7 separate regions of the Homo sapiens genome follow, and all the other regions are linked to region 5. The links are contacts of gene promoters, found by promoter capture Hi-C in blood cells and fetal thymus (Javierre and others, 2016). All regions are on one chromosome and are shown on one strand. Each heading gives the region's core, a stretch centred on a gene start or on the middle of the fragment in contact. The rest is flanking DNA. Distances are from core to core; before and after follow the strand shown.

Evidence for each region. Contacts are between HindIII fragments. The CHiCAGO score rates a contact against its expected background, and 5 or more counts as called.
Region 1: a fragment that was not itself captured here is called in contact with the fragment with the promoter of QNG1 in region 5 in 1 of 17 cell types (non-activated CD4 T cells); the score reaches 5.9 in non-activated CD4 T cells.
Region 2: a contact is called between a fragment that was not itself captured here and the fragment with the promoter of QNG1 in region 5, in 8 of 17 cell types (total CD4 T cells, total CD8 T cells, non-activated CD4 T cells and 5 more). The highest score is 10.2, in total CD4 T cells.
Region 3: a contact is called between a fragment that was not itself captured here and the fragment with the promoter of QNG1 in region 5, in 3 of 17 cell types (neutrophils, naive CD8 T cells and total CD4 T cells). The highest score is 5.2, in neutrophils.
Region 4: a contact is called between a fragment that was not itself captured here and the fragment with the promoter of QNG1 in region 5, in 1 of 17 cell types (naive CD8 T cells). The highest score is 5.3, in naive CD8 T cells.
Region 6: a fragment that was not itself captured here is called in contact with the fragment with the promoter of QNG1 in region 5 in 1 of 17 cell types (total CD4 T cells); the score reaches 5.2 in total CD4 T cells.
Region 7: a fragment that was not itself captured here is called in contact with the fragment with the promoter of QNG1 in region 5 in 6 of 17 cell types (neutrophils, naive CD8 T cells, total CD4 T cells and 3 more); the score reaches 7.4 in neutrophils.

The regions. Positions count from the first base shown.
Region 1 is chr9:83,709,125-83,712,518 of GRCh38, reverse strand. It overlaps UBQLN1-AS1 (UBQLN1 antisense RNA 1), which reads right to left. Exons shown (of 2, transcript NR_135839.1): 2 at 1-21. Among named protein-coding and RNA genes, the nearest start is that of UBQLN1, 2.9 kb to the right of the region's middle. The HindIII fragment of the contact is 516 bases long and covers 1,214-1,729 here.
Region 2 is chr9:84,154,907-84,158,142 of GRCh38, reverse strand. No RefSeq gene overlaps it. Among named protein-coding and RNA genes, the nearest start is that of SLC28A3-AS1, 120 kb to the left of the region's middle. The HindIII fragment of the contact is 889 bases long and covers 897-1,785 here.
Region 3 is chr9:84,097,222-84,100,314 of GRCh38, reverse strand. No RefSeq gene overlaps it. Among named protein-coding and RNA genes, the nearest start is that of RMI1, 120 kb to the right of the region's middle. The HindIII fragment of the contact is 4,368 bases long and covers 1-3,093 here.
Region 4 is chr9:83,728,502-83,731,536 of GRCh38, reverse strand. The region is part of intron 1 of LOC124902191 (a long non-coding RNA gene); the gene reads left to right. Among named protein-coding and RNA genes, the nearest start is that of UBQLN1, 22 kb to the right of the region's middle. The HindIII fragment of the contact is 3,988 bases long and covers 1-3,035 here.
Region 5 is chr9:83,955,194-83,958,324 of GRCh38, reverse strand. It overlaps QNG1 (Q-nucleotide N-glycosylase 1), which reads left to right and starts at 1,583. Exons shown (of 4, transcript NM_032307.5): 1 at 1,583-2,161; 2 at 2,685-2,944. The coding sequence starts at 1,825. The HindIII fragment of the contact is 8,080 bases long and covers 1-3,131 here.
Region 6 is chr9:84,116,767-84,119,844 of GRCh38, reverse strand. No RefSeq gene overlaps it. Among named protein-coding and RNA genes, the nearest start is that of RMI1, 140 kb to the right of the region's middle. The HindIII fragment of the contact is 1,401 bases long and covers 639-2,039 here.
Region 7 is chr9:84,207,268-84,210,680 of GRCh38, reverse strand. No RefSeq gene overlaps it. Among named protein-coding and RNA genes, the nearest start is that of SLC28A3-AS1, 69 kb to the left of the region's middle. The HindIII fragment of the contact is 7,346 bases long and covers 1-3,413 here.

The sequences.
Region 1 (3,394 bases), core at 222-2,721, 250 kb after region 5:
GTCTAACATCATTTCCATAGTCTAAAATAAATATAAAACAAACAGCAATGTCATTAGCAAAAAAAAAAAAAAAAGAAATGCACATTAAAATGATGTATAACATAACCACATTTATTTAAGAATGTATTCCAATATCAAATGACAAATTCCAACAGTGCAAAAACCACAATTACTTTTGTACCGACCAGCAGTTCCCCAACCTTTTTGGCACCAGGGACCGGTTTTGTGGAAGACAATTTTTCCATGGACTGGGGGTCAGGGGGAGATGGTTTTGGGATGAAACTCTTCCATCTCAGATCATCAGGCATTAGATTCTCTTAAGGAGCACACAACCTAGATCCCTCACATGCCCAGTTCACAATAGTGATCACTCTCCTAACAGAATCTAATGCCGCTGCTGCTGCTGATCTGATGGGAGGTGGAGCTCAGGCAGTAATGCTTGCTTGCCTGTCACTCACCACCTCCTGCTGTGTAGCCCAGTTCCTAACAGGCCACAGACTGGTACTGGTCCATGGCCCAGGGGTTGGGGACCTCTGGTATAAATGATGATTAAGACTTGATCCCTGTTTTCAAGGCCTTTATCTAATAAATGAGATATGCACAGACATATGATACAAGACAGAATGTGGTAAGTGACATCAAAAAGTAATAAAGCTATATGGGAATACAGAGGATTTAAAGACTATTTCGGATCCAAAAAGGGTTATTAGGGAATGTCACATTTGAGTCTTGCGGGATGGGTAAAATGATGGGGTCAAAATAAGGGGGAAGAATTTCTACTTGCAGTTGAAGCTGGAAAGTGCAAGACATGCTTGGAGAGCTTAGCTGACCAGTTTGGTTGAGGATAAGATATGAGTGAAGAGCAAGGTCTTTGGTTTACAGAAGACCCTGGACACCATGCCACAAAGTTTAGACATTACTCTTAACACTTTGGTGACAGTGACTGGAAATTTTCAAGCAGGTGTCATAATCAAAGCTTCGTTCTAGGATAACATATGGCATCACAGGAAAATAAGAGTTGAGGATGGAGACTTTAGATTGAGGCAGAGGAATCTGTAGGAGGTTATTGCTGTAATCTAGGCCAGAGCTCATGAGGGTGTAAACTAGACTGGTAGCAGGAGAAAGTTTCAGATAATAGAAGCTGTGCTACAAGTGATGAATGGTCAAGTGAAATGTGCAGGTAATTATGACGGAAGGTCAGATTCTGTAAGCTTGGGTATTCAAGGAGTTTCAGAAAGCAGGTAGCAATAATGGGTACAAGGAGGTGGGTGTAATGACTTGAAGGAATGATCAGAAGTTAAGAAAAGTATAATGTATAAGTGCTTCTAGGGATGATAATAAAGGTATTTGACTGGAATGGAGCATATATATTGAGAGCAACAGGAGTCAACACTAGGAGTTACCTGTGGAAGGCCTAGTTAGGAAGCTCTGGGCTGGGCGCAGTGGCTCACACCTGTAATCCCAGCACTTTGGGAGGCTGAGGTGGGTGGATCACCTGAGGTCAGGAGTTTGAGACCAGCCTGGCCAACATGGTCAAACTCTGTTTCTACTAAAAATACAAAAATTAGCTGGGCGTGGTGGTGCATGCCTGTAATCCCAGCTACTCAGGAGGCTGAGGCAGGAGAATCGCTTGAACCCAGGAGGCGGAGGTTGCAGTAGGCCGAGATCATGCCATTACCCTCCAGCCTGGGCGACAGAAAAAAACTGTCTCCAAAAAAAATAAAAAGCTTTGGCTTTATTTTCTAGGCAGTGGGAAACTTATGATAGATTTTTCAGTAGCCTAGTAACATGATGAAGTCATGTTATTTATAGCACTTACATGACATATGTACTACCTCGTATTAAAGGTATGTTCCTGGACACAAGATTAGAGGATTAAAGTTTGTCAGAGGATACTCAATGAATTCTTATTGAGTTGACTGAATCATTTTGTCAAAAAAGAATTATTCTATCGTGAATAATAACCTTCTATCAATATACTTGAACTCTGAATAATGGATTTTCTCAAAATGGGACTTCTTCAGTTGGAGCTGGCTCATACTGGCTTGTGAGGGCTTACTGGTAAAATTTCACGTGTTTTGTGAGGCAGAGGATCTCAAGTTGGTAACCATTTGCAAGTATTTACATCAAGGAAATTGGCAAATGTAATAAAGTTTATTTTCAGGAGGACTGGTTATTAGTCATTTACCAGGACATCACTGCCAGTCTCCCTCCTATCCCTCACCCCCATCATCCAACTATCACTTCAAGTTTTTTGACGGCAGAAACTGAGTCTTATTATTCTTGTATGCTCAATATAGTATTATACAGTATTAGGATACTGTGATAAAATATGTTCTTAAAATTTTCTCCAGACAGACCATTTAACAAACAAAAACCATTCAGAAGAAAATGCCACAAATAAACATCTAGACCTGGGGTTGGCAAACTATCTTCTGTAGGCCAAATCAGATCCTATGTCTGTTTTTGTTTTGCAAGTAGAGTTTTTAGTAAACATAGCTATGATTATTCATGTATGTATTGTCTATGATTACTCTGTGATACAAGGGCATAGCTTAGTGTTTTAGACCGAGATCCTGTGGCTCACAAAGCCTAAAATATTAGGTTGATGCATAAATAATTGCGGTTTTTGCAAATTTTTTTTTTTGGCACCAACCAAATATTTACTATCTAGCCCTCCCAGAAAGTTCACTAATCTCTGATTTACACCATAGTGCCCCCACCTCCGATTCTCATGCAGGTCAGGATTATATCTAAAAAGTGCCATAACAATGGATAACTATATGGTATCTTCTTACAGGTAAATCTTATTACCTTATAGTGTCACACACATCAAACATTTTTAGACAATAATGTAGACACAGATAATTGCAAAGTCCATAAATGCAGGGAGACAGACACACACACACACACACACACACACACACACACGGTATTTGTTGGAGAATCAAGGGAAAAACCATATCTCTAAATGGTAGGGAGTGAAGTCTTCCTGGGGCATGTGATACAGGATGAGTAGAAGTTAGACAGGTGAAGGCAAGGGGAAAGTCATTCTAGGTAGAGGAAGGCAGCCTAGGCAAAGCATGCAGGTAAGACACAGCATGACAGGGAAAAACAGGTAATGAGGAGCTAATGAAGTTGAGGAGAAATTTTATTTAGACATATGGAAGAAATTCCAAATGATTGGTTGTCCAGTTGTGGCACTTTCTAGCTTTAGAAGCAGTGATCATCTCACACCTGGACATAACCAAGTAGTCATCCTTCATTAAGCAGAAGGCCTTGTTATTGAGCCATGCTGCCAGAAATTTAGGTGATATCAAATGATGTCTATACTGAAATCGATACCCTCAGGATTCTCTTAGACCCAGATTCCATAGAGCTCTGCTAAAAAGTC
Region 2 (3,236 bases), core at 92-2,591, 200 kb before region 5:
ACTACCGCCAGGCAAGGGCACAACTGTAATCTGAGGTTATACAAGGAAACTGCCCAGACACAAGGATTCCACTTCTGGTTGAATCTAGACAGAGAAATCAGTAGGGTACCTCACCTCCAGAATATCAGTGAGAACTGGTAAAGTGTTTGTTGGATGAAATTTTTTAAATGATATAAAAAAAAGTCCAGTCCTTTCAGAGGATGATAATTTTTTAAAATGAGATTCTAATTCTCACGTCTTGATTAAATGAAACATGCTTTTTCCAGGTCTTCACTTTCCATTCTGGATTGTAAATATTTGCTGAGTGAACAAACAAATAGATGTTTGGGTGAGTTCATGAGAGGAGAGCTACTATTTATATATCTACTTGAACTCATGTCTCTCAATTTGCTAAAAGAAATGGTAATAGGATTATCTACTCAGAGGGTGCTCCAGAAACAAACAGGTGAACTGAACAGGTAACCAAAAGCTCACCAACAAATTTCAAGTCCAGACCTGGAATTGTGTACATGATATTCAGAACACAGAAAGGCGTCCCAAGTCTAGGATGGCCAACTTTTCAGTAAATGCCAGAGAATGACAAACAGCACCATATCTTGTCCTATAGCCCTCTTTGCTGCCATAAGGAAGAGGGCCAAGAAAGAAAGAGAAATTAACTGAGCCTTTTACTTTGGAAATGCCATGTTAGCCATGAAGACTTAATGTTTCAGATATGTCCTGTGTTCTTTCACTTGACCATAAACTCTAACCCTGGATCATTTACAATCAGTGAGGACAAGCATCTGAATTTAGGATCAACCAAAAGAACCCATTCCAAAGGTTTTCCTCTGCTGCTGTCAGAATACAGGAGTTTTCTCCTTTTTATTCTAATCCTCCCACTAGCAGAGAATAAAGCTTTTTCATTTCTTATTACCTTTATTCTGTTAATCTAACTCTAAGACTCTTTACAAAAGGAAGGAAATTGAGAAGAAACTTATTTCAGAAGAAAAGTTACTCCATAAAAAAAAGACATACACACATACAAAAATAATAAACTCCAAAGGTTTTTTTTGTAATGCATGTGTTTCCTTAAGTTGGGTAGTGGATACACAGGAATTCATCAAATTATTCTCCATAATGTTTTTAATGTCTTAAGTGTTTGATAATAAAGAAATCTGCTCATTGTAATAAATTCAAGTAAGATGAGTTTTTAAAAAGTCAACAAAAAAACTTACCATTCAGAAAAAACTAACATTTGGTGAGTATTATTCTGTGTGTGTGTGTGTGTGTGTGTGTTTGTGTATTAGTAGAAGAATGTATGAATGCCTAAATGGACATAATTTCACACAAATGAAGTCATAATAGAAATGCCATTTATTTATTTATTTATTTTATTTATTTATTTTTGGAGACAGAGTCTCACACTACCACCCAGGCTGAAGTACAGTGGCATGATCTCGAGGCTCACTGCAACCTTCACCTGGTGGGTTCAAGTGATTCTTGTGCCTCAGCCTCCCAAGAAGCTGGGAATACAAGCACATGCCACCACACCCGGCTAATTTTTGTATTTTTAGTAGAGACGGGGTTTCACCATGTTTTCCAGGCTGGTCTTGAACTCCTGGCCTCAAACGATTCACCCACCTCAGTCTCCCAACGTGCTGAGATTACAAGTGTGAGCCACCACACCCAGCCTAGATGCTATTTATTTAAAATATTAACTTAAAATTTTCTTCAGTTAATCAGAAAAAATTAAATTAAAACTGAAGGGGATTTTTTTAGCCACAGGAAAATTATTTACTAAAAGCTTAAAGAGAAAAAATACAAAAAGACCCAAAACATCAGACGCTTCATTTTTTTTTAAATAAAAGTGAATCCCATAGAAAATATCAATTGCCTCAGCAATGAGTGTTGAAAAAAGTGATTACTCTTACACTTCCCATTTCTCATTTTTTTCAGACTATTTCTCTATGATCAAGATTATAACATTTACATCCATCTTTATAACCATAATTCCCATATTTGTTTAATGTCATTCTGTGATTAAATGGATTCCAAGTTCACCAGGCCCTTCGCTATGGCTGTTCTTTTGCTGGGTTCCCATATTTACATCTTCCATGGCTAGATTTCATCGTCACATACTTTTTCAAGTAGAATTCAGTTCTTCTGTCTCTGAAAAAATCTTTGGCCATTACACTTGAATGATAACTTGCCTCAGTATAACATTTTGGGGGTTCACAATTCTTTCTTAGACATTACAACAGATTTTTTTCTGGAATGCAGTGTTGCTGTGGAAACATCTCTGGCCTGATTTTTCTCTTCCTTGTAAATGACTTGCATTTTCTACCTGGATCCATGAGCAATTTATTCTCCATCCTTGAAGCAGACAACTTAACTAAGACATAGTTCAGTGTCAGCCACTCTGTAGCCATTTTTCTTTGAACCTTGTTCAGGAAACTTTCTTCCTCTTATGTCTTTGAAGAGTCTGCACACTTCATTTGTTGGGCTGTGTCCTCTAAGTCCACCAATTATTCTTAAATGTTTGATTATCTTTGTCTGCCTTCAATATGTATCTAATTTCTCTTAAATGTTTCACTCTTGTTTTCCTCTGCAAGCATTGTGATTATTTCAGGCCCTTTCTCTGTCGGTAATTCAGTTTATTGCCGTGTCTGTTCTATTCCCTGATACATCAGATGTAAGTGTCAGGTCTATAATGGTATTGATTTGTTCTTCAGTTTCTTTCTTTAGGTTTTCCATCACTTCTTCTTCTTCCTGTTCTAATGTCCCAGCATCTCATTTCTGAGTTCTTGTTTTGTTGAATTTGTGATCTTATTAAGCTCTTTTATTGAATAAATCTCTCTATTCCGTGAGCTATGGTTTCTTACAGACTCGATTCTCTGGGTGTTCAATGTTATATTCCTTTCATCCTCTCTTATTTTGGGGGGAGCGTGGTATGTTTGCCCAGGGCTTGCTCTGATGTGGTGTGGGTAAATTCTTATCAGCTCTCTTCCCATTGTATTGGAGACCACATTGTGTTCACCTCTGAGCTAGAGTTTGAGGAGACTGTGTCCATGTTTCCGTTACCTGCTCTCCTGGGAGTGGAGGTGAATGGCCAGCTGGATCTATGTGCAGCTTTTTTGGGGGGGATCTGAATTATTTTCTCTCTTCCAACATTTGATTTGATATACAGTCCCAGGCCTTGCTCCACCTAAGTGGGGACATGTTCTATTTCCATAGGGGAATATCCTTCTGCTTCAGAT
Region 3 (3,093 bases), core at 590-3,089, 140 kb before region 5:
TCTCTCCAAAATAAGTATTTTTATTTTTGTTTTTGAGACGGAGTCTAGCTCTGTCACCAGGCTGGAGTGCAGTGGCGCAATCTTGTCTCACTGCAACCTCCGCCTCCCACGTTCAAGCAATTCTCCTGCCTCAGCCTCCTAAGTAGCTGGGATTACAGGCATGCGCCACCACACCCAGCCAATTTTTATATTTTTAGTAGAGACGGGGTTTCACCATGTTAGCCAGGATGATCTTGATCTCCTGACCTCATGATCTATCCACCTCAGCCTCCCAAAGTGCTGGGATTACAGGCCTGAGCCACTGCGCCCGGCCAGAACTAAGTATTTTTAATGTAGATTATTTTGGTTTAGCTAATGAGAAGAATTAGAACTCATCAAAAAATGTTGGTTTCAACAGACTTTTTGTTGATCTCTACTAAGATTCTTTGTTCAGAAATTTGGACTCCTGTTGCACCAGGAAATCTTTGGTTTCTGAGAAGCAGAACAATATTTACCTGGTTTGAAGCTGTGGGTGAGGTTTCTTTTCCTCAAATGAGGCCAGTGTTTCTTAGCCTGTAACACCCTAAATCTCATTAGAACTTGCCACCAGACCCCTCCTCTACTCATCCTTTCTCTTCTCTTCCTCTGGGCGGACCTGGCTGCTGGTCCTAGTTGTTTTCCTAATGAAGCCAGCTGTGTTAAGGCACAGCTTAAAGGAGTCTACTTTTGTAATTTGCACTGTCTCAAACTAATTATTATACTTAAATCATCTAGAAGTGTGATTTATTCATTCACTTTTTAAAGCCATTGACTGTGCTGATGAGCAAAGTGGAAATTAGTAAAATTTCCCTGTACATCACATCAGTTCTCTGTTAATCTATGTTCTGAGAAAATTAAGAATAATAAACTTTTATCTAAGCACCTCAAATGTTACATCCTAGGGCAGTTAAAAAGCAGAGGGATTGATCAACCATATGAATCAAAGGCAAAGACTGTGAAAAGTTCAAAATTAATAATGTTCTCTTTGAGCGGAAAATCTATCTCTTTTCGAGCATTAGAGTCATTAAATTGTACATTTCTGATTTTGCTAATGAGTTCAATTATATTTGAAATATAGATTAATTATCCTAAAAGCATTAATCAATTTGGCAAGGACACCTCAATAATGATGCAGTCTCTTTATTCCTTCAATATTCCATCATAGTATGATGTAATCTCTTTATTGCTTCCCCCATAATCGTAATCAAGGATTGATACAAATGATTCTTCCCTTCAGTTAATTCGAATAGAACATTTCTCTAGTACTTTCAGTTGATAGGATGGTAAATAATTTTTAGACTGAAAGTTGAAGTGGATTGATTAGAAGCAATTTTTTCTGTTTTGCACAATAAAAAGATGAACTACATGGTTCGCCAAGCCAATTTGCAGAGCAACCTCTTCTCTCTAATTGCTGCCAGACTAATGTAGTAGAAGCCGAGTCCTAGGAAGTAGAGAAATCCATTTACCCAGCCATGACATTTAAGTAGCAAACACAAGTAGTGGATTTTTCCATTATCCTTCATTTCAACCCTGCTACATTCCACCTGTGACCCTTATGTGCTGAGGGCAATGTGCTTTCATACAATTTGGTAACTCTAATAAGGGTCCACTTCAAAATGTTTGAGAGCAGGCTAAAAACATTTTTTAGAAAAGCATAATTAAGTTCATAACCAATCTCACTAATTTCTGATAATGTATTGAAAAGCCAAATTATTTGATAAATGCTCTAATAAATGTACATCTTACCAGAGGAAAAATACCATGTTTTCTCTATCACAAATAGCTCCCTGTTCACCAGTAGTCCCAGCACAGTTCTTTTACTTTGTGTCAGACTTTCAACAGCAAGCAGGCAAGTTTTCTGAAAACCACAGGGGCTCCATTGCTGTATGCCCTTCCCAAAAGAAACAGGAAAGCCTCTTTAAATAAAATCCATATTGAAATTCATATCAAAGAAGAAAAAAAATTCTGTACTTTTATTTTTTACGAATCTCCTAAGACATGTGAGTCTCAGCCAGAGTTTCCTCAGGTAAATTATTATCAAACTGAAATACAGAAACTCCCAGGGATGTGTCTTTTCTGTGGTATGTTCACCATCCTTCCTACTGCAAGTACTTGGAATGGAGTAGATGGCCCATAAGGTTTGCTGAATGCATCATTAGGGTAAGCCTGGTAAAAGTTAAAACCTTAAAAAATGCTTGTTTCTAAATAAAAACAGAGTAGTAGGAATGTTATAACATGCTACAGAGTACATATTATATTATAGGTAAAATAATAATCAAAGGTGTAGAAAGTAAAATCCACTGTTAATCTTTTTTTTTTTTTTTTTTTTTCCCCAAAATAAGGAATGGAGCGGTCTGGTAGTACATGAAGGGAAAAAGGTTGACACTTCCCACTGGGAGAAGTCAAATTTACCCCTCAGCAATGTGGCAGTAAATGGTTTTTTGTGTGCTGTTGTTTTTGTTTGTTTGTTTGTTTTTAGATAGGGTTTTACTCTCTTGTCCATCTGGAGTGCAGTGGTACAATTTCAGCTCACTGCAACGTTGGCCTCCCAGGTTCAGGTGACCCTCCCACCTCAGCCTCCAGAGTAGTGGGACTACAGGCCTGTGCCACCACATCCAGCTAGTCTTTGTACTTTTTGTGGAGACAGGGTTTCGCCATATTGCCCAGGCTGGTCTCTAACTCCTGAACTCAAGTGATCCTCCGACTTTGGCCTCCCAAAGTGCTAGGATTACAGGTGTGAGCCATCACACCCAGCTGCAATGGTTCCTTTCAGGCTAAATAATTCCCTTTAGGTCAAATTCATTTGCCTCATCTCATTCAAGTGTATTGAGACTGTACTTATGAAACCTGGTGCCTATCATAATCCCAAAAAACAAGACCCTAAATATAAAGATTGAAATCCTGAAAGCCAAATTCTGGGGAAGGGATTACTGCATTTTCAGTTGTATGCAGGATAGTTGCTTCGTGTTAGTTTCATCACATTAGGTGAAATTATTACTTTATGTGTTAGTCTGTTCTTGCATTGCAATAAAGAAATACCTAAGCCTGGGTAATTTATAAAGAAAAGATATTTAA
Region 4 (3,035 bases), core at 165-2,664, 230 kb after region 5:
GCGCCTGTAGTCCCAGCTACTCGGGAGGCTGAGGCAGGAGAATGGCGTGAACCCGGGAGGCAGAGCTTGCAGTGAGCCGAGATTGCGCCACTGCACTCCAGCCTGGACGATAGAGCGAGACTCTGTCTCAAAATAAATAAATAAATAAATAAATAATTAAAGACGTTTACAGTTTTATTGCTCTTGTATTAATCAGGGATACAGAAGTATTATTTATCCAGCTTTTCCATCAAATGGAAAACTTTATAATAGCCCTTCTAAAGTGAGATGTAGATACTACATGCTTGTGAGATGCAGTGGCCTTTAGTGAGTTAATGTCTAATGAAGGAAAATGGGATGGAAATCCAGAAAACCCAGACTATGTTTTGGCTGTGTTGACCATTTACCCGATGATAGCAATTTAGTTGTCCTTTGCCTCAGTCTCTTCATTCTAAGACTTAGACTTACAATACTGGTCATATAATTCATAAAGATTTGCACTTATCTTTTGGAGCATGTTGGGATAGAGGCAGTGTATGAAGTGGTAAAATAGATTTAATGGTCCAACACCAAACAAGACAAAAATAACTTCTGCATTTCAATAAAGGCTATGTTTTCTTCCTCCTCTTCCTTTTTCTTCCCCTTCTCCTCCTCTTTCTCCTTTTTCTCCTCCTTGTTTCTTCTTCTTTTTTGTAGAGGTGGCGGTCTTGTTTTGTTGATCAGGCTGGTCTCAAACTCCTGGGCTCAAGGAGTACTGGCCTCCTGAAGTACTGGGATTACAGCCTTGGCCTCCTGAAGTACTGGGATTACAGATGTAAGCCACTTCACCCAGCCTCACCCACTTTTACTTTTGTGCCTTGTGATCTATTTCTTTTATTCTTTTTTTTAACTTTTATTTTAGGGTCAGGGGTACATGTACAGGTTTGTTATATATGTAAATTGCATATCACGGGGGTTTAGTGTACAGATTATTTCTCCACCCGGGTAATAAGCATAGTAACTGATAGGTAGTTGTTTGATCTTCACCCTTCTCCCTCCCTCCACCTTCAAGTAGGCATTGGTGTCTGTTATTCCATTCTTTGTGTCCGTATGTACTCAAAAGTTTAGCTCTCACTTGTAAGTGAGAACATGTGGTATTTGCTTTTCTGTTCCCGTGTTAGTTCACTAGGATACTGGCCTCTGGCTCCATCTATGTAGCTATAAATGATGTGATCTTGTTCTTTTTTTGGCTGCACAGTATTCTATGGTGTTTGTGTACAACATTTTCTTTATCCAGTCCACCGTTGATGGGCATTTTGGTTGATTCCATGTCTTTGTTGTTGTGAATAGTGCTGTGATGCTGTGATGAACATACACATGCATGTGTCTTTATGGTAGAATGATTTATTTTCCTTTGGGTATATGCCCAATAATGGAATCGCTGGGTTGAGAGGTAATTCTGCTTTGAGTTCCTTGAGAAATCGCCAAATTGCTTTTCACAATGGCTGAACGTGTGTGTTTAGTACACTGAACCTAAGAGATTTGGCTTCTACTTTGCAGAAAAGCTACTCCTTTTGAAAGCATACTCTCTCTCCTGCTCCTCCTCCTCTTTCTCTTCCTTTTTCCTCTTCTTTCCTCTCTCCCTTCCTCCCTTGCATTGTACTGGCTTGCTTAGCAGTGAATTTTAAGATACAGCCTTCTAAAAAAAAAATGGCTAGTTGTTGTGTAAGATATTTTACAGAGTCTAAACTCCTACAAAAATAGGTCTAAGCCCAGTCCAGCCTGCCTGTAAAGTTTTCATTTAATTATCAAATTCAGCCTATATTTAGAATAACATTCTAATTACACTGTTCACTTAGATGTATTTTTGTACTGATTTTTTTAAATTCACAGTTTCATAGGGGAAACAGCCTCTTTTGAGGTTGAAAAAACAATATTTGTGCTGAAAAATTTTAGTTGCTTTTTTCTTTTTTTTTTTAAATTGTTGAAGAGAAATTTTATGAAATTGTCAACTAATTCTTTATAATATAAATATATAAACATTTGTGGTAATTCTTATAAACAGTTCTGACCAATTCCTTTCATGAAAAGCAGTGTGCTCTGTAGTAATTGCTAAGCAAACAGAAAGCTGTGTTGCAAAGTGGTTTTTTTTTGTTTTGTTTTGTTTTTAGCTTTTTTTTTTTTAATTTTTTTTTTTTTTTAATTGATCATTCTTGGGTGTTTCTCGCAGAGGGGGATTTGGCAGGGTCATAGGACAATAGTGGAGGGAAGGTCAGCAGATAAACAAGTGAACAGAGGTCTCTGGTTTTCCTAGGCAGAGGACCCTGCGGCCTTCCGCAGTGTTTGTGTCCCTGGGTACTTGAGATTAGGGAGTGGTGATGACTCTTAACGAGCATGCTGCCTTCAAGCATCTGTTTAACAAAGCATATCTTGCACCGCCCTTAATCCATTTAACCCTGAGTGGACACAGCACATGTTTCAGAGAGCACAGGGTTGGGGGTAAGGTCACAGATCAACAGGATCCCAAGGCAGAGGAATTTTTCTTAGTACAGAACAAAATGAAAAGTCTCCCGTGTCTACCTCCTTCTACACAGACACGGCAACCATCCGATTTCTCAATCTTTTCCCCACCTTTCCCCCTTTTCTATTCCACAAAACCGCCATTGTCATCATGGCCCGTTCTCAATGAGCTGTTGGGTACACCTCCCAGACGGGGTGGTGGCCGGGCAGAGGGGCTCCTCACCTCCCAGTAGAGGCGGCCGGGCAGAGGCGCCCCTCACCTCCCGGACGGGGCGGCTGGCCGGGCGGGGGGCTGACCCCCCCACCTCCCTCCCGGTAGTTGCTTTTTTCTCCACCAGATTTTAAAGTGAGAACTATGTTGGAGGTTGCCAGGCCCTGCTAGGCTCAGTCAATACAAGAATCCTTCTGTAGCATCATGTAATATACCCATGTAACAAACCTGCACGTGTACCCCTGAATCTAAAATAAAAGTTGAAATTATTTTAAGAAAAAGAATACATACATTCATAGATACATTTCCATCTATAATTATATCTATACTGAAAACCATGAGTTCA
Region 5 (3,131 bases), core at 334-2,833:
TGGGAGGCCAAGACAGGCGGATCACCTGAGGTCAGGAGTTCGAGATCAGCCTGGCCAACATGGTGAAAACCTGTCCCTACTAAAAATACAAAACTTAGCCGGGCGTGGTGGCGGGCACCTATAATCCCAGCTACTCGGGAGGCTAAGCCAGGAGAATTGCTTGAACCCAGGAGGCGGAGGTTGCAGTGAGCCGAGACTGTGCCACTGCATTCCAGCCTGGATGACAGAGTGAGACTCCGTCTCAAAAAAAAAGCTCCATTTGGGAGGCCGAGGAGGGTGGATTACCTGAGGTCAGGAGTTTGAGACCAGCCTGGCCCACATAGGGAAACCCCATCTCTACTAAAAATACAAAAATTAGTCAGGTGTGGTGGCTGACACCTATAATCCCAGCTACTTGGGAAGCTGAGGCAGGGAGAATCACTTGAACCGGGGAGGTGGAGGTTGCAGTGAGCTGAGATCATGCCACTGCACTCCAGCCTGGGCGACAGGGTGAGATTCTGTCTCAAACAAACAAATTTAAAAGCTCCGAATCCTCCAAAAATACCAAGATTTTCCTGTCGGTAACTAGAGATGGGTACTGATGATTATTTTTAATAGGTGATTTTCAAAGATGTGAACGTTATCCATGGAGATTTAAGTCTCCAAAAGGAAAAAAAATGCATACCTTTATACTAAAACTTCATCACCAGTCAAATTTGGATCATCACTAAATTGGCTTCTACACCTCTCTCCTAATATAAGGTACTTGTGTAAGTTTGCAGTTGTGAGACACTTATTTCCTCATTTTTAATGTCTTCTCAGTAGGGCCACTGATATAGTCACTATTTGACTGACCAGAATGGTTGGCACTGGTGATTGGCTCATAAAGTGCCCTCGATTTAGGGGGCTCAATTATCAAAGGTTTAAATCCTAGCCCAAACCATTGCTGTGATGGGGGTTAATCAATGAACCACTCAGCTTCACTTGCAAAAGCGGGATCACAATAGCCGCTTTCGTCATGACCCAGCCTAGGTGAGATTTAGTACTTAAGTACACTGCCAGGCACACAAGGTTAATTTAACAATTTAACACATTTGTTTCCTCATCCATTTCTCCAAACCTTCCAACTAATCCTAACGTTCGTTCGGCCAAATGGGCCAGGAATTCACTTAAACAAAAACAAAAAACAAAACAAACAAAAAAACACTCCCTGGGGCTTGGGGAAGGAGGCACCGCCGCCCATGTCGCAGTCTGGGGGTGGCTCAGTCCTCAGCACCCAGATCTACGGCCATAATGCTCTTCGAGGCCAAGGAGCCCGGATGCGGGGCGTTGCCGAAGGCGTCTTGCTCAGGCTGCGGGAAAGGAGAGGGGTGGGAGCGGGGTGGGGGCATCGCGACCCAGGGCAAGGCGGCGAGTCGCCGTCTTCGAGTCCCACCTGTCCGAAGCGGGGTGAGAAAAGGCAAAACATGGCAAAGCCATGCACCTCCCAGGGTGGGCAACTCACGGCCGGTGAACGCCGGACCCTTAGCAGTTTCCAGACCTTTGGAACCGGAAGCGGAGCCTGAGAGCGCGCCCGAGAGGGCGTGAACGGGACCGCTTTCCCGGAAGTGCTTGCGGCCTCTGCCCAGCGAGCTGCCCCGGGGTCTCTCTGGTTTCCTAATCAGGGCAACGCCGCGGGAGAGAACCTTTACCTTGGCTGCACTAAGTTCTCGGTGCCACTCCCTGGCAGGGCGGGACCTTGTTTAGGCCCTGTGATCGCGCGGTTCGTAGTAGCGCAAGGCGCAGAGTGGACCTTGACCCGCCTAGGGCGGGAAGAGTTTGGCCCGCCGGGTCCCAAAGGGCAGAATGGACGGGCTCCTAAATCCCAGGGAATCCTCTAAATTCATTGCAGAAAACAGTCGGGATGTGTTTATTGACAGCGGAGGCGTACGGAGGGTGGCAGAGCTGCTGCTGGCCAAGGCGGCGGGGCCAGAGCTGCGCGTGGAGGGGTGGAAAGCCCTTCATGAGCTGAACCCCAGGGCGGCCGACGAGGCCGCGGTCAACTGGGTGTTCGTGACAGACACGCTCAACTTCTCCTTTTGGTCGGAGCAGGACGAGCACAAGTGTGTGGTGAGGTACAGAGGGAAAACATACAGTGGGTACTGGTCCCTGTGCGCCGCCGTCAACAGAGCCCTCGACGAAGGTTGGTGCCATACTTGCCATCGGACCTAACGGCCTTTGAGGTTTCCATTTACTTGGGGTGTGTGTAGGGGAGTTCCAAGGAGCGGGTTGGGAGATGGAATAATGGAAAGCGAACCTGAAGTTCGTTGCAAGTCCTTATGCTTAAAATAGAAGTATGAAAAGGGGCATATTTTAGTGGAAAATGATGTTAATATTTATCATTGCAGCATAAAAGTTACAGTAGCATAAAAGTCAGTTTTATAAAGAATGCCATTTGAATGACACCTGAAGAACAAAAGGACCGATGTTATAAAGCAATTTACTCAGAATACATCTGATGTAATATTGCAATAGTTAGAAATGGGTGAATAAGTACAGATGAACAAGTAGAAAATGAGTTTTGCTTTAGATTTTTTATTCTTCCACTTTTGGTGCATTCCTATACCACTCATTTGGTTTCATATTAATTCCATGTTGTAAAAGCAAGGGTTTAATGCATATGGAAGTATGACATTGGTCCTCTGAATTTTATTTTTTCACTAAAGGGATACCAATAACTAGTGCCTCGTACTACGCGACAGTGACCCTGGATCAGGTTCGGAATATACTTCGTTCTGACACAGACGTTTCCATGCCTTTAGTAGAAGAGAGGCATCGGATTCTCAATGAAACCGGGAAAATTCTGCTGGAGAAGTTTGGAGGCTCTTTTCTCAACTGCGTCCGAGAAAGTGAGAATAGTGCGCAGAAGTTAATGCACCTGGTGGTTGAAAGTTTTCCTTCTTACAGAGATGTGACTCTGTTTGAGGTGAGTTGCTTCTGTTGGGGATTTTAGAAGTCTTAATCATCTCAGAGTTAACTCTTTTACTTCCAGAACTCATTTTAAGAATAAAAACTTAAATTTTTAAATGTATTCCTTGTGGAAGAAACTAACAAAATCAAGTAGTGTTTCAAAGTCATTTCTTATGTTTTCTTTTGTTTGTTTGTTTGAGACA
Region 6 (3,078 bases), core at 90-2,589, 160 kb before region 5:
GAGTATAGTTTCTGAGAATAAAAAGGAAGTGGCAAAACAAGAATGGAACTTTTTGAGCTTGTTAAGACCCTAACTCACAGGAACCATATCCCTGCCTCCCAGCATGTTCCTTAATAGACCTATCCCATTAGGAATGTTGGAGCTCACAGGAAGCTGTGCGGAGATAAACTGCATCTGATCTCACCCAACATAATGACCTCACTTCCAATAAAATGTATAATTCTTTGCTGGTTAAGTTGGGCATTTACTTTAAAAGTTAAAATGCTTGTGGGTGTGTACTTTCTTCTGACAAATATGAACCCACCTGACACCCTGTGGAATTGAACTGTGTTTGTATTTTGAGCAACAGGCCTCACAAATGACAAATGTTTGAAAAACAAAAAAAAACTCATACAAAGGTTAAACCTGCTGTAATATAAAAATGGGATATATGCTGTTATCTATAAAATTCTAATATCTTGCATTTCTTGACAAATTTTATCAACAGTATCTTTATTGTTGTTTAAACAGTCTAGTAACCTGACTTCAATTGAAAAGATAAATAAACCAGAGAAAGACCCAGTGTAGACCAAGGAGAAAGACTGCAGCCTGAAGTAAGAGTGTTCATGCATTTATTCAATGCATTTAATCACCAAGCTTTATTAACAGCCTGTTATGTGCCTCTGTGCTGGGTACAGCCAGACTGAGTTGAACAAGCCATAAGAAAAACCAAGGAGAAAATAAAGTGAGCTCCTAAGACATGAGAGCAAGAGCAGCAAGTTCTAGAAGAAACAGAAGTAACTTGACATGACTTACTTGAAAAGGATACCCTTGCAAACTGGGTAACAGCACAGAGAAATTAAAAAAGAGAGGACAGGGCCAGGTGCGGTGGCTCACGCCTATAATCCCAGCACTTTGGGAGGCCGAGGTGGACGGATCACCTGAGGTCAGGAGTTCAAGACCAGCCTGGCCAATATGGTGAAACCCCGTCTCTACTAAAAATACAAAAATTAGCCGGGTGTGGTGGCACGTGCCTGTAATCCCAGCTACTCAGGAGGCTGAGGTAGAAGAATCATTTGAACCTGGGAGGCGGAGGTTGCAGTGAGCCAAGATTGTGTCACTGCACTCCAGCCTGGGTGAGAGAGTGACACTCCATCTCAAAAAAAAAAAAAAAAAAAAAAGAGAGAGAGCAGACAGCTGGGCTTGCAGAACACAGAGGACATGAAATGCTTAGGAAGAAAATCAGCCCAGACAAGAAGAGAAAAGTGGGCTGAGACACATCTAACATTCCAGGCTTGAAAACTTTACCAAGTTATGGGTAAAAAATAATTTACATATCTACTTTTTTGTCCACAATTGAGTTAATTACTTAGAGATATTTGTGATGAGTTCTATAGATTTCTTTAGGCTGCTTCGTTAAATCCACATAAACGCTACCGTACTTATGATGGTGTTTTACCCAGCATAAGTAAATTGAAAATATTGTAAGTCAAAAATGTACTTGATATACTCAACCTACCGAACACCATAGCTTAGCCTAGCCTATGTCAAACATGCTCAGAACACTTACATTAGCCTACAGTTGAGCAAAATCATCTGGAAACACAGAATACTGTAGATTGTTGGTGATTTACAGTGGTGATCATGTGTCTGGCTGGGGGCTGTGGCTCATTGTCACTCCCTGCCATCACAAGATAGTATCATACTACATATTACTAGTCCAAGAAAAGATCAAAAATCAAAATGTGAAGCACTATTTCTACTGAATGTATATTCAGTATGTAAAGCCAATTGTAAAGCCAATATTCACACAGAGAGAATAGCTCAGCAGAGAGAGACTCCATTTGTTTGGGGGAAAATAAGAGGAGAGAATAAGAGTCTCTGCCTCGTAATCAAAAGAATTCTCCTAGATCTTAACCAAGACCACCAAGGTGGTATCTCTACAAGCCTGCAAGAACCACAGCATTACTGGGCTTGGAGTGCCCTGTTAAACAAATATGGCTGCAGTGACCAAAGATTTAGATCACAACCTACACATTCTCTTAAATATCTGGAAAGCTTTCCCAAAAAAGAACGGGTGCAAACAAGCCCAGACTGCAAAATTTACAATAAGTACGTAACTCATCAATGCCCAGACACCAACAAATATTCTCAAGCATCAAGACCATCGAGGAAACCATGACCTTACCAAATGAACTAAATAAGGCACCAGCAAGACAGAGATCTGATACCTTTCAGATAGAAAATTCAAAATAGCTGTTTTGAGGAAGCTCAATTAAATCTAAGATAACACAGAGAAGGGTAGTCAGAATTCTATCAGATAAACTTAACAAAGAGATTAAAATAAAACAATCAAGCAGAAATTCTGGAGTTGAAAAATGCAATTGACATACTGAAAAACGCATCAGAGTCTCTAAACAGCAGAATTGATCAAGCAGAAGAATTAGTGAGCTTGAAGACAGGCTATTTGAAAATACACAGTCAGAGGAGACAAAAGAAAAAAAAGAATAAAGCATGCCTACAAGATCTAAAAAAAATAGCCTCAATAGCCTCCTTGAGGAGGAGGTAGAGAGAGAGATCTGGGTAGAAGGTTTATTGAAAGAGATAATAACAGAGAACTTCCTAAACCTAGAGACAGATATGGATATTCAAGTATAAGGAGGTGATAGAACACCAAGTAGGTTTAATCCAAATAAGACTGCCTCAAGACATTTAATACTTCCAAATGTCAAAGATAAAGAAGGATCCTAAACACGGCAAGAGAAAAGAAACAAATAACCTACAAAGGAGCTCGAATATGTCTGGCAGCAGCCTTCTCTGTGGAAACCTTACAGGCCGAGAGATAGTGGCATGACATATTTAAAGTGCTGAAGGGAAAAAACATTTATCCTAGAATAGTATATTCAGCAAAATTATCCTTCAAACATGAAGGAGATATGAAGATCTTCCCAGACAAACAAAAGCTGAGGGATTTCATCAACAACAGACTTGTCCTGAAAGAAATGCTAAAGGAAGTTCTTCAATCTTAAAGAAAAGGATGTTAATGACCAAGAAGAAATCATCTGAAACTACAAAACTCACTGGTAACAATAAGCACAC
Region 7 (3,413 bases), core at 551-3,050, 250 kb before region 5:
TAAACTCAGTGGTTTTAGAGTGACCACATGAAATGGAAATTATAACCAGCTACACTTGGAGACTTTTGTATATATAGGTACACTGGGACAGAAGTGAGAAGCTCACCCATATGCAGGCTTTTCCACGAAGGTCAGAGAGGAGTGGAGAAAACGGGGATATGAGATTGATGGTATCATACACAAGAGACTGGAGAGGTCAATGGATGAAAGAAGGCTGTGGGCAGAAAGCAGAAAGAATGGGATACCATAGGATGCTAGAAATGTATTACTTTAGGAGCTACCAAATCAAATGCCTCCAGGGATTACACTTATGAAAAAAAGACAAGTGGGCCAAGGGAAATTATAAGGTGAACTGAAACAGATAGGCCTCAACCCAAAGGCATTTAAGCTCATTTTTTTTTGTTTCAAGATGGAATCTCACTCTATCACCCAGGCTGGAGTGCAGTGGCATGATATCTGCTCACTGCAACCTCTGCCTCCTGGGTTCAAGCGATTCTCCTGCCTCAGCCTCCTGAGTAGCTGGGACTACGCCCAGCTAATTTTTGTATTTTTAGTAGAGACGGGGTTTCACCATATTGGCCAGCATGGTCTCAATCTCCTGACCTCGTGATCCACCCGTCTCAGCCTCTCAAAGTGCTGGGTTTACAGGCATAAGCCACCACACCTGGCCTAAGCTCAATTTCTAAAAAAATAATGAATGTCAACCAAAACAGAATCTATGAGCCAAATTCAGCTTGCCAGACTGACTTTTGCATTAAACAATAGCTATGTCAATAGTTAGCTGTAGTGGCAGAGAGTATAGACTCAGGAGCCAGACTATTTGGATCAAATCCTCCTCCACCACTTACCAGCTGTGTGACCTTCAGCAAGTGGCTTCACATCCTAAGCCTCAGTTTACTCAGGTGTACTATCAGGGAAGGAACTACACTTGTTCACAGGTAGGGGTGATCATATGCCCAGGTGGGCCTAGGACGGTCCTGGCATATAGAATATTTTTATAATGATTAGAATAATTAAAAGAATAATTATTAACAGTGTCCCTTTCACTGTCAAAACTGTCTGACATATAGGGTCATGGGAGGGTTAAAGAGATCATAATCTATGTAAAGTACTGACCATTGTGCTTAGGATATAGAAGATGCACCCAAAATAATTGACAATAGCTTCATGTAAGACTAGTTCTGTGCAGAATTAGGAGGGGAGAGAAGTTTGTCTTCAGAGTTGTCCTAGGCCCCAGCCTCATGCTACCCAGATTCCTTCACATTGGCATTTCACATGTGCCTGGACCTTTCTTAGTGACCTCAAAAAGCTGTCTCTGATCCACTCTTTCAGGACTCCCCTTTAGGGTTCAGCAAGCTGATCTCCCAGACAGACTAGTCCAGGCCTTGCCAGGTTCCCAGGAGATTTATGTACTGCTCTTCCTAGGTAAGTTGAGATGAAAAAGGATTAATGGGGACTTCAGGCTGGTAGAAGGAGATGCTTTTGGGTAGCTTTCAGTATTTCTTCAAACAACATTACACTAACAGCCCCTTGTGAACTTGAAGCCTACCTTGATTTCTCCAATCTATTGTATATATATATATTTTATATATATATATTTTTATATGTATAAAAAATAGATTGGAGTATTTATATATAGTATATATAAAATAGAGTATATAATATATATTATATATATTACATAATTATATATTATATATAATATTCATAGCCATTCATGAGGGATCCACCCCCATGACCCAACATCTCCCACATTCAACATTGGGATCACATTTCAACATGAGATTTTGAGGAGGCAAATATCCAAACCATATCAGAAGGTTTCTCCACTCTCATGTCTCATGTATAGGCTGGAAAAGCTGGGGGCTGCTTGAGCATCTATCCTCAAGCATCCTCTCCACATGGCTAGGCTGGGTTTCCTATGCAGTATGGTGGTCTCAAAGTAGTTGGACTGGTAGTAGGTGGTCCGTGCATTTCCCCAAGAGGGAATATTCCAGGAGACCCAACAGAAGCTGCAAGGCTTCTTATGATTTGGAGGTTAAACTATGTCAGTTCCACCATATTCTATTGGTCAAGAGCAAGTCACGGGCCAGCCTAGATTCATTAAGGTGGTGGAATAAGTTCCACCTCTCAGTGAAGAATGGCTTGTAGGGAAAGAAAGAACTTAACAGTATTCATCTTGGAGATAAACTACCATACCATCCACCCATCTCTCTCCACCTTGTTATGAATGGAATTCCTAATGGATTCAAAGTAACTAGAAGAGAGGATTCTGAATGCTCTCACCACAAAGAAATGATAAATGTTTGAGGTGACGGATATACTAAATACCATGATTGGATCATTGCATAGTGTATACATGTATTGAAACATCACCCTGTATACCATAAACATGTACAAGTATTATGTATCAAATAAAAACAAACAAAAAATAATGAAATGGAAGACTTAGAAAGTAGCATCTGACTAAAATTTCCTGAATGATCAGTCTTACATTTTTAAAAATTGTTATTATATCAATAATATCTGTTCATTATTAAACTAGCAAATAGAAATAAGTAAATAAAAAATAAAAGATTTCCATGACCCAGAGAAAATCATTCCGAGGTAGGTATGGGTAAAATTAACATTTACCAGATTAGAAAGCCTGCAGACGTGATTTTTCAGCTCTTCCCCTTAAATACCAACTTAGTGCAGGAAAGCACTCAATGTTACCCAACTTAGTTGAACAGGCAAAGAGCCAGCCCCCAGATGTCAGGAAAAATATAGGGGCTTAGCAATTGAATGGGATGGAGGAGACAAATGATTTGAGCAGATGCCACGTTGAAGTTGTGAGAGGAAACATCTGCTGTCCCATTTGCTAAGGTATTTGGTAATCAGGAAGATGGTGTAAATGCACAAACGGAGCAACATGTATTGATATGCAGAGCATGAACACTGATGTCAATGTTTTGTAGCTAATTAGACGGCGAGTGTTACATTGTGTCTCTAATTTTACAGAATGAAAGCAGAATGTTCCTCTCCATCAGAGTTTACTGGCAATTTTCAAGCCGAGTGTGGCCTCATTCCCATTCGTCTGACAGCATAATGAGCAGCAATGAACCACACAGTAACCAAGCCTCAGTTCCTTACATTATACAGCCCAGATGTCCAGGCTTCATTAGTTTTAAGTGTCATAATAAAGTCACATTTCTTTGTGATTAAAAAGTGATGGTGCCTCGGGTTCCCACTGACTCGGCCTGAGGAAGTCCAGTTCTTCTACCAGCTTCCTCTTCACCAGCATTTCTGGGAATCCCAAGGAATCATTTCGCTTGTCAGGATGCTGTTTTCATGGCTCACTGCAGCCTCAGCTACTGGGGAGGCTCTGGCTGCCGGTGGTGGCTCCCGGGGGGTCCCTGGATCTTCCTCTTTCC